2 separate regions of the Homo sapiens genome follow, and region 1 is linked to region 2. Evidence: promoter capture Hi-C in human tissues and cell types (Jung and others, 2019). All regions are on one chromosome and are shown on one strand. Each heading gives the region's core, a stretch centred on a gene start or on the middle of the fragment in contact. The rest is flanking DNA. Distances are from core to core; before and after follow the strand shown.

Region 1 (2,700 bases), core at 143-2,642, 390 kb after region 2:
AAGTGTATCTAAGTCTGCTTGGGCTGTTGTCACAGAATATCACAGACTGGTAGCTCATAAACAACGAACAGTGATTTCTCACAGTTTTGGAGGCTAAGAAGCCCAGGATCAAGTTGCTGGAAGATTTGGTGTCTGGTGAGGGCCTGCTTCCTCATTCATGGACTGCTGTCTTCTCACTGCATCCTCACATGGTGGATGTAGCAAGGGAGTTCACTGGGGTCTCTTTTATAAGGACACTACTCTCATGCATGAGGGTTCTACCCTAACGATCTAATAATCACCTTCTAAAGGCCCTACATGCAAATACTATCACACTGCAGATTTGGGTTCAACATATGAATTTGGGGAGGGGGCACTAACATCTACTGACATTAGGATGTAGTAGAAGGAGTCCTTCTTATTTGAAAGATCATATGTGAAGCCTCTCTGAGTAGCAGGTAAGACCCCAAAGGGGTTGTCAGGAGTTCAAGCAAAAGGAAAGCTATAGCTAAGCTGTCCAACCTGAGAATATAAGAGGAGTTAAGAGATATATGGGGAATAGGAGAGGTCAGTGGTTTACAAGGGGATGAGAGAAGGAGGGACTAGAAAGATGGTCTATGGCTGAGGACTCCACAGGGTAAACAGAGGTAGAGCTTTACAACAATATGCATTGTTGTGCAAGTTGCCTTTGCTCAACTGGTTGGCTGAGGCAGCTGGCTGGGTTTGCAATTAAACCAGTGTCCTGATCCCTAAGTCGTATTTTCTGGGTCTGCACTTGAAGGAGGTGTCCCTATGGCCTAGTAGTGACCCTGGGAAGAGCATCTTATGGAATTGCCTTATGATAAGGTGGTTGTTATGGATTGAATATTTGTGTCCACCTCAAATTCACATATTGAAATACTAATTCCCAATGTGATGGTATTTGGTGGCGGGACCTTTGAGGGGTAGAGAAGGTTAGATGAGGTCATGAAGATGGGGCCCTTATGATGGGATGAGTGCCCTTATAAAATAAGGAGGGAACACAAGATCTCTGTCTGTCTCTGCATGTGAAGATACAATGAGAAAGTAGCTGTCTGCAAACCAGGAAGAGTGTCCTCATCAGATACCAGCTTTGCTGGTACCTTGATTTTGGACTTCCTAGCTTCCATAACTGTAAGAAAATGAGTGTTTGCTGTTTATGCCATCCAGTCTATAGTAATTTGCTATGGCAGCCCAAACTAAGACAGTGGCCAAAGGAGGGCTTCACAAGGGGGATGCCTAATGTCCAATTTGAAGTTGTTGTGATATAATAATCCTTTTTCTAGCTACTAAATAAATCTTCAAGTAAGTGCACTATACTTATTAGCTCTTTGTGCAAGATGAGTGTATGGGTGTGTAGAAATTGAAGAAAGGCGGGGTTTCTCGTCTGGATTGTAGCCATGTGGACAAAACAGCATTTGCAGAATCAGAAACCTAGATTTGGAGACATCAGAATACAAATCCCCCATGCTCCCGTCTCCCCTTTTTCTTTCCCAGAAATCTGCAGGCTTTGGTCTTCCATGAAGCATGGAGTTGATCGTTTGAGCCAGCCTTATCTGGATTTTAAAGGGCAGGGAGGTAGCAAGTGACATCAGGATTACATTTTATTGTTTTAGTGCCTCCAGCGAGATGTCATGAATAAGTTTATTTTATGACTGTGTGTCTCTCGCTTAAGTAAGCTAATATTGCATCATGGGTAGTTTACACAAATCATTGTTTTAAGGATGCAGTTCAAAACAAAAATATATGAGCAAACTGAAATTCTTATCTCTAAGATCCAAAGGATAATAGTTCATTTATGCATCACATCTTCTGGAATGTATTTTTATAGACTGTAAATTGGATAAGATAGCTGAGTGCAATGCATGGTAGGGAAGGATAAATAATAAGAAGCTTTAGGTTCAAGACCCAGCTCATGCTAAGTTGCTGTGTGAATTTAGGTAATTGTAGTCCTCTCTGATATATAATTATCCTGTAATGTTGGAGTGTTGAACAAAAACGACCTCCAGGATCTGTATTAATTAAGACTAAATTAGTTGTATTAAAGGAAGATGGAAACGTCCTTCTTCCTCATGTAGAGGTCTCAAGATAGGCTATAGGTGTCTCTACTCCAAGAAATCCTCCAGGGTCCAGGATCCTTTATATTTTTCCTAAAGCAGGAAAACATACAAAGCCAAGCAAAATATCTAATGATTAAATATGTAACCTGGAAGCTGCACATAGTACTTCAGCTCACATTCCCTTGGCCTTAAGTTTGTCACATGGGCTCACCCAATCTGCAAGGTAGATTAGGAAATACAGAAATAGAGTCTATATTCTTAGCTGATATACGTTGCCAGCTAAAAACTGGGGTTCCGTGATTCCGAGAGAAGAGGATAATGGGTATTGTAGAACAATTAGAAGTTTCTGCCACAGGTTCCTTCCAGAACTAACAGTTTAAGATTCTAGGTGTTGTCAACAGTTTTGATGATCAGATATCAAATTACTCTCCATCTTTAGGGCCCTTTCTGCTGGATGATGGTTGAGATGACTTGATCACAGAATTAGCAAGTAGTTTAGACCAGTGCTGTCCAATAGAAACATAATATAAGCCACACAGAAATTAAAAAAAAAAATTCTAGTAGCCACAGTAAATAAAGGAAAAAGGAGCAGCTAAAATGAATTTTAACAATTAATTTTATTTCATCTAATCATGTAAACACT
Region 2 (2,768 bases), core at 165-2,664:
TTATTTATTTTTGAGATGGAGTCTGCTCTGTCACCCAGGCTGGAGTGTAGTGACACGATCTCGGCTCACTGCAACCTCAGCTCCCAGGTTCAGGCGATTCTCCTACCTCAGCCTCCTGAGTAGCTGGGATTACAGGCGCGCGCCACCATGCCCGGATTTTTGTATTTTTAGTAGAGACCAGGTTTCACCACATTGGTCAGGCTGGTCTCAAATTCCTGATCTCGTGATCCGCCGGCCTCAGCCTCCCAAAGTGCTGGGATTATAGGCGTGAGCCACCGCGATTGGCCTATTTTAATTTTTTAATTTTAATTTTTTTGAGACAGTCTTGCTCTGTCGCCCTGGCTGCAGTGCAGCGTCACGATCTCGGCTCACTGCAGCCTCCGCCTCCCGGGTTCAAGCGATTCTCGTGCCTCAGCCTACTGAGTAGCTGCGATTACAGGCGCGCGCCACCACGCCCGGCTAATTTTTGTATTTTTAGTAAAGACGGGGTTTCACCACGTCGGCCAGGCTGGTCTCGAACTCCTCACCTGAAGTGATCCACCCGCCTCGGCCTCTCAAAGTGCTGGGATTACAGGCTCGTGAGCCACTGCGCCTGGCCTTCAGATCTTAAACACCACTTCCTTGGTACAGCATTCAGAGACACCTCCATATTCCTCTCCCCTTACTAAAGGTTCCTTCTTACGGCACCCTGCATTTTTCCTTCATGACTTTATCACAGTTTGTAATTGTCTATTTATTTTAATTAATCTGTCTGTGTCCATAAACTGTGAGCTCCGCCGGGACCTTGTTTGCCCTGCTCTCTGCTATGTCCTCAATATCAACAGTGGACTAGGATCACAGCAGGCTTTCATCAAATATTTATGGGAAACAGTCCAGTCCATTCCTGAACTCGGGTTCAGAAAAGGATAGCGACCTGTCCAAAATCACACAGGTTAGCGGCAGACTTGATCCCGAGTCTCCTAACTGGCAACCCAAGACTCTATCCCCGGAACTGGCAAGAATCTTCCTGAACTACCCCGATAAAATTTTGAGTGCCAAAGAAAGTCCCAGAAAGGGAGTGAGTAGAGCAGTGTGGAGAGTAGGAGGAAAGTGATTTGACTTGGCCCCTCCTCTCTTGACGTTGAGCATACTGCAAACAGACACTATACGTGGCAGGGCGGCTACAGAGTGAACCAGCGACAGGGTAGCCATTAAAAGAGGCCAGGGAGCGGACAGAGGAGTAGAGGGCAGTACTGCGCAGTAGACTGCACAGGCGCAGTCGAGGAGCTCCGCTCCTTTCTCCTCAGCCCCGCCCCGCCCCATTTCTGCCGAATCACAGAAGTTCAAGAGCGGTCAGCTGATGCTACGCTGTGCGGTCACGTGACAACGGGGGCGAAGCGCAGGCGCAAGGAGCAAGCGCAGATTGTGGGCGGCTGTGTCAGCTGACCCAAGGGGCCTTCGAGGTGCCTTAGGCCGCTTGCCTTGCTCTCAGAATCGCTGCCGCCATGGCTAGTCAGTCTCAGGGGATTCAGCAGCTGCTGCAGGCCGAGAAGCGGGCAGCCGAGAAGGTGTCCGAGGCCCGCAAAAGTGAGTTTCAGGGTGGGGCTGCCCGGCGTGGCGCGAGTCGAAGAAAGACCGCTGGGCCTCAGGTGGTGGGTAGATTAGGCCCGAAAAACTGCGGGGTGCGGGCGTGCGTATAGTCGCGGAAGGTTGTGTGTTTCGAAGCTTTGAGGAGCTGAGGCTCTGGAAGGCTTGCGGATCGCCTGGAAGCCACGATGTGAGATGGTAAATTGGGCGTGGAAACAATAATGGGTTACCGTCCTTGGGGCCTGGAGGCATGTGAAATGGGCTCTCCAAACGGAGCTCTTTGTTCTTCTTCTCTCCCACTTAACCGCTCTGGGGTGGTCAGTCTCGGTGAAGGGAGCCAGCATCCACACAGTTGCTTGGTCTAGAAACCTGGAGTCCTGCTTGCCTCTTCTCCCTCCCTCATTTAGTCAGTCGCCAAGGCTTGCGTATCTTTCACTTTTTCCCCCATGTCTACTACCAGCGTCTTAGTCCAGGACACCAGTTTCTCTAAAGGTACTGTAGTTGTCTAAATCGTTGGCGTGTGTGCGTGTGTGTGTTTCTGATATGTGGCAAGCGCAGTGTGTGTGTGTTTCTAACATGTGGCAAGCGCAGTGTGTGTGTGTGTGTGTGTGTGTGTGTGTTTCTGTCTAATATGTGGCAAGCGCAGTGCCCAGTGCATCAGTTGTCTCCCCTAACGTGGCATTCAGTGTCGCAGTGAAGGAAGCAGGTATTGGGTCAGTTAATTAATTGCAGGAGAGATGAGGGCTGGAGTGGAGAAATGTAAGGTTGCTAAAGAATTTAACAGGTGAGTTTAATCTAGACTGGGGAGTGGAAGAACCCGTTCTGGTCCCCTCCAGTCAATCCATTCTCCTCTCTGCAATCAGTCATCCTTCTAAAATGCAAATATGTGACTTCCTGCTGGTAAGGAACAAAATAAATAAATAAGTGCAGATATGATTTCCCTACCGCCTTTGTAGTCAGACGTTTAGTTCCTGCAGAAGAAAGCTCAAATTCCTTAATGAAGTTGGGGAGGCTCTTGTGGGTCAGGCCTGGTGCTTTCCTCCAGCTATACTGAATCGTTGTGGTCCCTCAGAAGCAGCATGATGTCTTTCACCTGCAGGTTTTTGCACACGCTGTTTCTTCTGACGTGAGAAGCCTTTTCCAATTCTCCTCCCCTTTGTTCTCTGACCCTTAGTCTTCCATCAGACCTCAATTTAGGAAAC

The links. The method cuts DNA at HindIII sites, captures the fragments that hold promoters and counts their contacts. A contact is called where the count stands out against the background at its distance.
Region 1: a fragment that was not itself captured here is called in contact with the fragment with the promoter of ATP6V1G1 in region 2 in 1 of the 25 tissues and cell types used here (IMR-90 fibroblasts).

The regions. Positions count from the first base shown.
Region 1 is chr9:114,979,639-114,982,338 of GRCh38, forward strand. No RefSeq gene overlaps it. Among named protein-coding and RNA genes, the nearest start is that of TNFSF8, 50 kb to the left of the region's middle. The HindIII fragment of the contact is 4,565 bases long and covers 1-2,700 here.
Region 2 is chr9:114,586,355-114,589,122 of GRCh38, forward strand. It overlaps ATP6V1G1 (ATPase H+ transporting V1 subunit G1), which reads left to right and starts at 1,415. Exons shown (of 3, transcript NM_004888.4): 1 at 1,415-1,566. The coding sequence starts at 1,485. RefSeq lists enhancers at 1-693, 694-1,512, 1,151-1,230, 1,341-1,850. The HindIII fragment of the contact is 8,309 bases long and covers 1-2,302 here.